2 separate regions of the Homo sapiens genome follow, and region 2 is linked to region 1. Evidence: promoter capture Hi-C in human tissues and cell types (Jung and others, 2019). All regions are on one chromosome and are shown on one strand. The core of a region is centred on a gene start or on the middle of the fragment in contact, and the rest is flanking DNA. Distances in the headings are between cores, read along the strand shown.

Region 1 (5,967 bases), core at 1,040-3,539:
CCACAAAATGGTGGTGGCAGGCCCTCAGGAGGACAGGGCCTCTGATTCTGGAGCAGTTTTGCTTTTTTGTGGTCATACAGGGTGGCTGGTCAGTTGTATACAGGCATGAGGACGACCGTGGTGTTCCCTTTTAAAGGGTGAACTGCTTGAGTCCAGGAGTTTGAGACCAGCCCAGGCAACATGGCGAAACTCCATCTCTACAAACAATTCAAAAAATTAGCCTGGTGTGGTGGCATGCACCTGTGGCCCCAGCTGTTCAGGAGGCTGAGGCAGGAGGATCACCTGAGCCAGAGAAGTAGAAGCTGCCGTGAGCTAAGATCGGGCCACTGCACTCCAGCCTGAGCAACAAACAGAACAACAAACTGTGTCTCAAAAAAAAAAATTTTTTTTTGTTTTAAAAACATGCATGTATCTGTAAGTACATATTTATCTGTAAGTGTGCCTTAAGCTTATGTCATTAAACTGAGTGCTCCCAAGGGCGCCTGGTGTTCCTTCATTAGACAGACAGAATCCTGAGGAAATAACCTCCTCCCTTGAGATTCTCCCACTAACCCCTATCCAAGTCTTTGATCACAGAGCAAACTCAGCATGAGACTAAGTGACAGCTGGACGCTTAAGCATTAAATGTATGTGCTGGAAACGACTGTGCGGAAGGTAAGTCCTCACGCTGGGCCCCCAAAATCGGAGGCTCAGGTTCCCGGCCAGGATGCACTTGTAGGGTAACGAGATCCTGGAGGTGAGGGGCCGGCACTCACGTGGTGACAGTATTGAAGCCACAGGCCTTCAGCTTCAGCAGGCGGTCCCTCCAGTACTCCCTGGGCACCCGGAAATAGTGGATGGAGCCCCCGAAGATCAGGAACTTGTGGCCCTCCAGTGTGAAGTGGGGCTTACCCCGACCTGTGCTTTCAGTTCCAAGTCCCACAGATCGATTCTTCAGCTCCAGAGGGGTCAGATGAGACCAATTAAACCTGGAGGGGGCGGGCGAGGGAAAGAAAGTGGAAAGGGAGAGAGGATTCGGGAGAGGGCTCGGAGGCACGGCTGAAACCCTAGCGAAAAGAAGTTTTTGTTAGTAGGACGTGTTCTGTGCATATGTTAGTAGGACGTGTTCTGTGCATATGTTAGTAGGACGTGTTCTGTGCATATTCGCGATACTATTTTCTCCAAGAAAGGAGAGATCGCTCCCCTCCCTCCCCAGGGATGTAGCTCTCAAGCAAACCTAGGCTGGGACGGATGCGCTCTTCCAAGCATGAAGTTCTCTTCCTGCTTAAACCGAGGAGCAAAACCTGATGAGATAAATGGCAGGAAAAAGATGCCCGCCATTCTCTTCCAGGAGAGACACGGGCTGAAAGGAGAAAGGACAACAGTGACAAGGGGAAGGTTCCGGCCCCACCGGGCTGCAAGGGCCGGGAAGCTGTGCCGGGGGCGCTTTAGAGGCCAGAGCCAGGGAGGGGGCCCGCGACACAGGCGGGTCTTCCAGGCGGGCCCAGGGCCAGGACAGCGCGGCATCACCCGGCCAGTCCTCTGCAGCCAGGATGAAGGCCGGGGACAGACGTTCAGTCCTAGACCCTCCAGACAGGGCTGGGCAGTGCCGGTGGGTGCCTGGGAGAGGCGGAGGCGGGCGCACTTCCAGCACCAGGTTCGGGAAGGACACGGTGCCCAGCCGCTGGAGCCCCTGGCCTGCGTGCCCCACCCTGATTTTCTGGCATCTGGTGAACGGCCCCTCCGCAGGGTGGGGGTAGCCAGGGGATCTGCCGAGGAAAGCTGGGGACAGCGGGCTTGGTGGCGCGGCCCGGCGCGGCGCGTGCCTGGGGCGCGTGGCCGGCCACAGAACCCGGGGAGGGTGGAGGCTCCCGGGCACGCGCCGGGGTGGTGGGCAGCCCGGGACGGCAGCGGCGATCCGTCACCTGAGGAGGGGCGGGGACTTCATCGCGGCCAGGCCGAGGCGCCGAGGGTCCCTTGCGGCTTCCGCCCCTCTCCGCTGGCCCCGACGCCGCGCTCGGGCCGGGACTCGAGCCCCGGTTCCGCGGGGCAGGCTCAGGTCTGCGCGCTGCGCCTGCAGCCGAGGCAGAAATCCGTCCCGAGGCGCGGGCGCCGGGTCCGGGTCCCAAGGATGCGCGTCGGGCTCCCTCCCGCGGGGACAGCCGAGCTCCGCCGGCGCTCCAGGTGTTCCCGCAGTGCGTCCGGGCGCGGACGCCTCTCTGCCCTCGGAGGGGAAGCGGGAGGGCCCTTGGGGTAACGCCCCGACCTCGGGCTTCCTAACCTGGGTCGACAGCCGGCTGGCACAGGGAGGCCTGCGCGGGAGAGGGGCGGAGAGAGCGCAGCGCGGGGCACAGCGGGCGGTCTCCGTGCCGCGCGCGCGACTGGAAACGGCGTGCAGATCCTAAAACGAGGGTTCCACAGAGGGCCACGAGGGGCAGGAGAGAGTCCCCGGAGAACTCTAGCTCCCCGACACGGCTACCTCTTGGCAAACGAGCGAGAATTGGGGCGCAGAGCCTTGGGAGGGCCGTTCCCTCGGCGGGAGCGGCCCGAGCACAGCCTCACAGCAGATGCGAGCGCGGCGGGCGCTTTGGTGACGAAGTAGCGGGACCTGCAGGAGGCAGAGGCCTGGTGGGGCCGTGGACGCCACGCCGAGCTGCCCAGACCCTTCCAGAAGACAGTGGGGACTATTCAACGGTTTCCAGCAGAAACTAAGCCAGGTGTTCGTTTTACGGAGATTGCTCGGCTGCAGGGTGGAGGCTGGATGAGAACAGGCGTCCTCTCAGGTAGGCGCTCGTGGTGGTAACGCTGCCCAGGAGGAGGGCACGGGTTCCGGGAAGACTTGCGAGGTTAAACCGGCAGCTCCGGAGAACTGAGCGCAAGAGGTCGGTGACACAGAGAGGAGTCCGGGAGGCCGCATGTTTCAGGCTGAAGTCACTTGGCGGGGACGTTTATTGAGATGCGAAACACAGGAAGGGATAGAGGCTGCGCAGAGGGAAAAGGCGATGGACTCGGTTTTGGAAACGCTGATGTGAAGTCCCTACGATGAAAAAAGAAATCTTCCGATTTCTCCCTTTGAAGTCTTTGCTTCTTCCGTTGCAAAGAACACAGCCTATGACATCAGGTTGAAACCAAGAATGTAGTTCTCTGAAAATACTGTGTGTGGGGGAGGGAGTTTATCTTGTCTCATTCCTTACAAGGATACTTTGCTCTCCGACACCTTAGCTCCCTGAAAGTTTCCTAGATCGTCCATCTTTTCCTCATTTTTTCGACTGCAAGCAATGAACTGTTAATTTTTTACAGTTTGGTTTTACAGCCACACACTTTATTCTTCTTTGTCAAGTTTAAAGTATTCTAGGGCTTGTGCCTTCCCACATAAAATTTAGAATAAACTTGTCTGTTTCTACAAAAAGCCATGTTGGTATTTCGAGAGGAATTGCAATCAACCTATGGATCAAATTGAGAATTGTATCCTTATTATGTTGAATCTTCCAACCCACGAACATGGTATGTCTGTCTATTTAAATAGTTTTTTTTTTTTCACTTCTTTCATCAGAATTGTGTGATTTTTTCAACATCAGATCCTATCACGTTTTGTTAGGTTTATACTTAAATATTTCCTTTGCTCTCAAGAGATTTAAACTGTTATTATTTTTATTTCAGTTTTTACATGTTTGTTGTTAGCATACAGAAATGTGATTGTGTTTCTCATGTTGATCTCATATCCTGTGACCTTGGCAAACTCACCTATTAATTTTAAGAGGTTATTTGTGTATTACTTGGCATTTTCCATGTAGATAATCATGTCATCTGCAAATATGGAGAGTTTTATTTCTACCTTTCCAGTCTGCGTGGCTTTTTATTCCTTTTTTTGTGTGTCTTAGTATGATGACTAAAATTTCTGTGTTGAATAAGAGCGGCAGGAACTGACACTGTTACCTTGTCCCCAGTGTCAGCTGGAAAACATTCTGTTTTTCACTATTAAGTATGATGACAGCTATAGGTTTTGTGTACATATTCTCTATCAAGTTGAAAGAGTTTGACAGCTGGGCCTGCAGTCACTAGAAATGCTGTGGTGCTTTATTGGAACAAGCTATGTATCAAGAATTGTGATTTTCTGCAGGCGTTGCTGGAGGAATTTTGACAAAGGTAGAAGAATCAAATAATGGATTATTGGTTCATTTGAAAGATGACATATCCTGTGTCCTTTTGCCATCTGGGGCTCCCCTCTGCTGATGGAGTATTTGAGAACCTCTATGAAGGAGCCCTGGAGAGTGAAAGTTCCCCCAGATTTCTGTGCTCATTAAACCTGTAGAACTCTTGAAAATGTGCAAGGTGAAGTAACAATTTTGATCAAACAAAGCTGTCAGTTTCTGTCTTGAGATTACAGAAGTAACTCTACAAGGCCAACATCCCAAGCACAGGAAAGACCAGCCACTAGGGCCGCAGACCCAGCATCCTGGTACAATTTATTAAAAAAAAAAAAAAAAATCAATATTTTTCCCTTCAGTTTCCATCCAGATAACTGATAATGAAACAAAGAGCTAATTTCCCAAAGCAGGCAGAAAGCATCAAAAAGCTCCCAGAGCTGAGTGTGCAAACTTCCTGTGCCAGTGCTTTGATGTTAATAAAGCACAATTCCTGCTCCTAAATTGCTCTCTTGTAAGAACAGCAGCTTCCAGAAAAAGAAGGCAGCACTTTCTGTTGCTTTAGTAGTGGACAACCCTATAGGAGTTAATGTATGAACCAGAAAAGACAATTCTTGATTTCTTCTTAGGTTGAACTTCTTAAAGAAATGTATGTGACAACTGTATAATAAGAACCCTTGTGAGATCCAAAAACCTGGGTTAGGAACTAATATTATCAGTGAAAAATTAAAGGGAAAGATTATCAACTATTAATATTCCAGTGTCAGAGAGCTGTGAACAAAGAGTTGAGGCAGAGATATCTTTAAGGTTAAAGTATGCAAAATCTGTTGTTTACTTGTAAGATCATCTTTCTAGGTTTATTGATAGTTAATAAAAAGCAGCAAAATTTATAAAAGTGAAAATTTAGCCACTTCTACTTGTAAGCCATCCTTGTTAGAGAAACTCTTTGTTTACTTAAGTCATGTTTACTACAGGAAATGAAAAATGCTCATTTGAGCTATAAAATGGACTCCGTGGTCTCTTAGTAATTAATTTAACCCATGATGACACGCAGTTCACAGGCTGAGATGGAGGGATAGGTAGATGACAGATACATCCCTGCTAGAGATCTTCAGAGCCCTAGCTTTAAATTTCATCCTTACAGACATTCAAACTTTAAGTAAATTGATAACCTGTCTCCCACAGATTAAAAAATAAATGAAGTGGATATGCACCCCATCACGCAGGGCCACTCCCAGCAGAGGGAAGTGAAGCAGCCGGCCTCCTGTCCCTCCACAGGGTAACTAACGCTCAAGTGCAGGCCTTTCTAAAGGAGCTGCTCAGCAGGCGGCAGCCCAGCTCGGCCACCGGGCTCTGGCTGTTATCATTCAAATGTGCCTTTTTTATGGACTGAGTCTGCTAGATGCATTCATTAGTTAAGGAAATGGAAAATCATGCGGAGCTCCAGGTGAGAACCCAAGGTTAAAGTGTGTTCTCAAGAGTCTTCTCCCCTGGGAGTTGAAGTTAATCAGCCTGATCAGGTCGGGGGGGAAGGCTTCCTCTCTGCATGAGTGCAGCCTTGGTGATGGAAAAGGGCCACCCTTGAGAAGGTAAGAGAGGAGGGAAGATCGCTGTCTCCATGGGGCACCCAGCAAGAGGCTGCTGTCCTTGCAGATAACCTGATCCATTGAGCTAAGAGCTGGATGGGGAGTGTCTGTAAGAATATTAAAATCCTTATCCAAAAGTGATTTATTTTCATCAGGTTTTTTCCTCTGTTATGAATAGCTGACATTTACCAAGCACTCGTGTGCCAGGCACAGTTCTGCATGTTTGACATTTCTGTCTATTGTCTCTTAACTCTCAC
Region 2 (5,967 bases), core at 2,512-5,011, 670 kb before region 1:
CAGGAATGACATCACCCAGGGAAAGGCGTGGTGTGGGGTGTGGATTATGTGCTGTCCTCCTAGAATGTCCTGAAGAGGCCAAGCTTTTCCTTAGAGAGCCTGGTGTCCCCTTTGACTTCCCAACATAATTGTGTGTTATTTAAACACTGCCTCCATCTCCACTCTGGTGGTGACTCTACCCTGCCTCAAACCTCTGAACTGTAGCAGGTCAGGTGGCAGGTCAAGGAAAGGACCTGCCATTTCATTGAGGTAAAATTGACATTTACAACTCTACGTATTTAAAGTGTGAAGCATGATGTTTTATATAGACATACATTGTGAAATGATTACCACAATCAAGCAAATTAACATATCCTTCACCTCACAGGTACTTGTGTGTGTGTGTGTGTGTGTAGTGAAAATACTTGAGATCGACTCTTTCCAAGTTCCACGTGTCAAACACATTATTAACTGGAGTCCCCATGCTGTACACTAGGTCTCCAGAACTGACTCATCTTATACCTGCAAGTTTGTGTCCTTTGACCTTTGACCATCATCTCCCTGTTTCTCCTACCCCCAGCTCTTTGTGGCTTTCATTCTACTCTATTTCAATGATTCCAACTTTTCTAGATTCTACATATAAGTGAGATCATGTAGTATGTGATTTTCTGTGCTTGCTTTATTTCATTTAACATAATGTCTTCTAGGTTTATCTATGTCATTGCAAATGGCAAGATTTTCTTCTTGTTAAGGCTGAAAGATATTTTAGTACGTGTGCCTGTGTGTGTGTGTGTGTGTGTATCACATATTCTTAATCCATTCATCTGCCAACCTATGGAATAAAAGACATCATTTTCAAACCATATATCTGAAAGGGGGTTAATATTTTAAATAAATAAGAAACTCATACAGCTCAGTAGCAAAATAATAAGAGTAATAACCTGATTAAAAATGGGCAAAGGACCTGAATAGACATTTTTCCAAAGAAGACATACAAATGGGCAACAGGTATATGAAAAAGTCCTCAACTAATCATCAGGGAAATGCAAATTAAAGCCGCAAACAGTTATCACCTCGCACCTGTTAGGATGGCAATTATGAAAAAGTCAAAAAAGGTAACCTGTGCTGGTGAGGATGTGAAGAGTGAACCCTTATTCACTGAGGGTGGGAATGTAAATTAGTAGAGCCAGGATGAAAACAGCCTGAAGGTTCCTCAGAAAATGACAACCAGAGCTTCGATATGATCCAGCAGGTCCCACTTCTGGGGACAAACCCACAGGAAAGGAGGTCAGTGGGTAGAAGAGCTGCCTGCCCTCCCATGTCCACTGCAGCACTGCTCACCGTAGCCAAGACAGGGAAACAACCCAAGTGTCCCTCAGCAGAGGCCATTTGTTTTTAAAGCTAACAGGCCACACCTGGCCATAGCATTGTTTTACTTTAAAAAAAAAAAAACCACGTTCTAGGGGGGTGAAATCTGGGTGTACTCCCATCTCACATTAGCATATAGTACTCCACTGCAGAGCATGTGAACGCGGCAGCTCAGGGCAACCCACAATTATTCTATGAAAATGGCTGGCTGAATAACTATACATTTAAGCAAGTCTCAACCCCACTGTGTCTCAACCCCTACTGCCTGTGCTATCGTTAGGAGGAACTGTCCCAAGTCACTCTACCCCGTTTTGCCCAGAACCCTTCTGGTGACAGGCAGCCTCAGTGCCTTCTTCCTCCTTGCTTTCTTCCCTTATAGAGTTCAAATCTCACGTCTGTAGGTTTGTTCAGAACTAACCAGCAAAACTGCACCCAGCTGTGTTCCTAACATCTTCCACGTGCAGCTCTGCGTATCACAAGGAAAGAGATTCCTGAATGTACAACCGAGCCACACCAAGTACAAATCTGCGCACCCTAAAATCTGCCCACTCCCTGTAGTAGCTGCTCCTGCAGCTCTCGCTGTGGGCTCGCATGGCCCCTTCAGCTGTCTAAACAGAAACATTGGCATCCCCAGCTCCACTCCTTTAGCTCCTGCGCAGTGAGAAAGAAAGAGCGAGTCAAACATGAAATCCACTAATATATTAATTCAGCTCAGCAAGCAAAACCCATGAGCACCCAGCTCAGCAGAGCCTGCCAGGCATGACTAATCAGACCCTGGCTGAAGCAACGCTCTCTTCCTCGGTCCTCTCTGGAAGTGTGCTGGTTATGCAGCTTCTTCCTCTGAGCTCAGGAGACTCTGAAAAATGCAGTTTAAAAGGATGTAAATTAGGAAAATGTAAATACCCCTGGCTCCCTCACACAGGACTAGGTTTTGTGGTGGGGGAAGTTGCTTTACCTCATCGAGTCTTGGTTTTCTCATCAGTGATGACTTGCAGAGTTTTGTATGAAGTCCCAGGGCCCTGGCCCCACTACAAGGAGCTTGAATTTAGCAGGTCTGCAGTGGGCCTGGGCAGCTGTATGTTTAAAAGTTGCACAGTGACTGCGATGCTACCCAGCTGAATGGCATCAGCTTAGCTCATGGCTTCTCAGAAGCGATGTGCAGACTCCGATTCAATATCTTCAATGTAGGCTCTGAGGTTCTACATTTCTAACAGCTCCTGGAAGGGCCAGTGCTGCTGGCATGTGGACAACTCTTTGAGTACACAGGTTCCAGGTCTGTGGCTCCCGGTCTCGGCTGCACTTCAGATTGGGCCAGCCCCTCCTGACTGGATAAGATCTTATGGGACTGTTGGTGAGGAATCCCTACCCTAGCCAAGCTGTAGGAGTGTGACTTAAGCTGGCTGATTATCTGGATCCTCTGTGAAAGTTGATCCTAGTGCTCAGTGACTCAAAGACTGTGGAAAGTCAGAGCTCATGAATCCAGATTACAATGACATGCGAGACTGTTCCTGGTGCCCGAGATTCAGTTCCCAGAGCTACTATGGCTTATTAGGTACAGGTACAATTTTCCTTTTGTAAGATGCTCCATATTATTCCAAATATGGCCTTTTTTATTTGTAGAAAAAATATCTTTTTGTCACTGACAATTAAAGAAACATAACTGATATTTCTGTAAGATGTAACATCCCATAATTCTGCTCTCCCTGCATCAACCTGCATGTTCGTGTTATCTTCCTTATGGGGAAGAGGGGATAGCCACCACCTGCCTGGCCCCACACCTCCACCCTCACCTGAAACCCCAGGCCTGGAGAACACACTTGTCACCTCCCCTGCCTTGTGTTTGAGTTTCTCCCTCCGTAAAGAAGCGCTCTAAGGCTGGATGTTGATAAAATGACTCCACTGATGGAGGAAAACTCCTGCCCAGCTGACTCTCACTTCTGGGAAGGACTGGTCATGGTCAAATTGTGAAGGAGCCAAGGCTTAAAGAAGGCATTTCTTTATTCTTTTCTTTCAGTTATTTGTTCAGTTTTCATCTCCAGCCTCCTGGAGCATTTGCCTGATAGGAACCTATTGATGAAACGTGTCCCAAAACCCTTCACCAAAGAACAATTTATCCGTCTAGATCTTCAGTCCCGTCTGCTTTCTAATATGACCAATAGACAATGAAGTGTGTAGTCAGTATTGGCTATTGACACCAACAGCCAATAACAGCTTAATTACTCACTGTTCTGAGGCTGCGTGCTCTGATCCAGAGAAGGATTCCAGCAGTGGGTTTTAGGCACGTTTCCCAGTATCAGTCAGTATCTGGGAGAAACTTAGGACTCTTATTTCTCTCCCCCTTGCTTCCACGTGTCCCATATAGACACTTTATTACTAATCGAGGGTGAGTTGGGTGGCAAGTAATAACACTGCACATCCCACATGCTTTTCTTACAATGTAAGCTTAACGTACCAGCCGTGGAATGATGATGTCTGTCCCCTCTCATTCAGTCTGGCTGGATCTTTGCGACTGCCCTGATTAATGGAGTACAATGAGAAGGACATGATTTTACTCCCAAGGCTAGCATGCGAAAGGTGATATGGCTTCAGCCTGGTTCTCTTGGGATGTTCACTCTTAGAAGAAATTTGAAGAACCCCAAACAGCCACATGGAGAAGCCACAAACAGATATTCTGGCTGGCAGCCCAGCAGAGGTCCCAGCCAGCAGCCAGCATCAACTGCCATGTGAAGAAGTGTGCCTGCAGGGGGGTTCAGACCCCAGCTGCCAAGCTGCCTCCAGCCTCCCGGTCTTCCAAGCTGAGGATGCAGACAGTGTGGAGCAGAGATAAACCACCCTACAATGCTGTTCTCAGATCCCTGGATTGCAGAACCCAAGAGCACTACAAAACAGTTGCTATTTTACATTGCCAAGTTTGGGATTGCTTGTGGCATCAAGGACAGGAAATTCCAAGCTCTTGGTCAATGCTTAGTCATAGTGTCCTGGGTTTGTTTTCAGAGAAAACACATGACAGAGTGGCCCCTTTTCTCTCTTACCTCTCCAGTGACTGCAGCGGGAAGTGCCAAGGGCCAGACAGGCTTTCTCTCGGAAAGTTCTCTCTTCCTAATACAGCAACCAGGCTTGGCTGGTTTTGTGCTGAGCACTGCAGACAAACAGGGTCCCTTGTGCTGTGACTCCATTTCCTCCTGCTATTGTAGGAATTCTCTGGCCTGGTTGATGGAGTCAAGCTTAAGGTCTGGTTGTGAGTGCATAAAAAGGAATATACTGCCCAGCACTTGGTTCTAAGCTCTGAGCTGCCTTATGCATATTCTCATAAATTCTCATGAAGAATTACCTATTGAGTCCAACATAGTTTAATGGAATTCTGTTTGGAGGCTTGGAACCAAAGTCCCAATTAATAATAAAGCGTTACTTTGCTTTCCTTTGCCAGTTTAGCCTATGCATGTATTTTCCTTAGAGAGCCCATGGAGGAGAGAGAGGTGGCTAAAACAAGAAGAGATCTGTGGATGACTGCATCTCCCAGCCAAAAGACCACTCAGATAGCTTCCATGAGGATGACTGCATCTCCTGGCCAAAGACAACTCTGATAGCTTCGATGAGGATGACTGCATCTCTTGGCCAAAGACCACTCTGATAGCTTCCATGAGGATGACTGCATCTCCTGGACAAAGACCACTCTGATAGCTTCCATGAGAGCTCCCTGGGGCATCCATGGAGAAGATATTTTTGAGGGAGAAATCCCCAATGCATCTTGAATCTTGCAGCCCACACAGGGATTTCCTACAAGCAAACCCAGCCTTGAGCTATAAAGACCTGATCACTTTCCTGGGTGAAGACAGCAGACTGACTCAGTTATTCTGTGGATAGGTGACTTGATCAATGAGTTGGCGAGAAATCTAAGATGTGTCTTTCAGGCGCATATCTCAGATTTGTAAAATTATTATTTATTTATTTAATTTTTTTTTTTGGGATAGAGACTCACTCTGTCACCCAGGCTGGAGTGCAGTGGCACGATCTCAGCTCAATACAACCTCCACCTCCCAGGTTCAAATGATTCTCCTGCCTCAGCCTCCTGAGTAGCTAGGATTACAGGTGCCTGCCACCATGCCCAGCTAATCTTTGTATTTTTAGTAGAGACGGGGTTTCACCATATTGGCTGGGCTGGTCTCCAACTCCTGACCTCGGGTGATCCTCCCGCCTCAGCCTCCCAAAGTGCTGGGATTACAGGCTTGAACCACCGTGCCTGGCCTCAGATTTGTAAGATAATTTACACAAGACTCGGTGTCTCTGCATCTCACACTGGTTGTATATTGCATTAAACGGGTGATAATTCTCCCCTAATCAAACTGTGCCCATATGCTGGCAAGGACATTCATGTTATGAAGACAAGAGGTAGCTGAAAAATAAAGAGACAATAGCCACGAGACAGACCCAGAGGTCAGGCAGGGCAGGCTTGCCGTGAGGACACGGCTCATCCCACGGGGCCTGGGAACTGGCGGTCACAGCAGTGCAAGGTCCTGTTCTCTCCTCCGCAGGGACAGACAGGCCACCAGCCTGACAGAGACGGCACTGGGGGCAGCTGCCAGGAACAAGCAGGGATTACACTAGGATTTCTCAAAACCC

Evidence for each region. The method cuts DNA at HindIII sites, captures the fragments that hold promoters and counts their contacts. A contact is called where the count stands out against the background at its distance.
Region 2: a contact is called between a fragment that was not itself captured here and the fragment with the promoter of GLB1L3 in region 1, in 1 of the 25 tissues and cell types used here (H1 embryonic stem cells).

What each region holds. Positions count from the first base shown.
Region 1 is chr11:134,272,701-134,278,667 of GRCh38, reverse strand. It overlaps GLB1L3 (galactosidase beta 1 like 3), which reads right to left and starts at 2,289. Exons shown (of 20, transcript NM_001080407.3): 1 at 1,905-2,289; 2 at 1,217-1,342; 3 at 756-968. The coding sequence starts at 1,927. RefSeq lists a silencer at 2,111-2,180 and enhancers at 2,631-2,680, 2,831-2,960, 3,021-3,130, 5,271-5,826. The HindIII fragment of the contact is 8,641 bases long and covers 223-5,967 here.
Region 2 is chr11:134,947,633-134,953,599 of GRCh38, reverse strand. It overlaps LINC02697 (long intergenic non-protein coding RNA 2697), which reads right to left and starts at 2,611. Exons shown (of 2, transcript NR_187396.1): 1 at 2,303-2,611. RefSeq lists enhancers at 3,541-4,740, 5,293-5,793, 5,794-5,967. The HindIII fragment of the contact is 3,649 bases long and covers 1,937-5,585 here.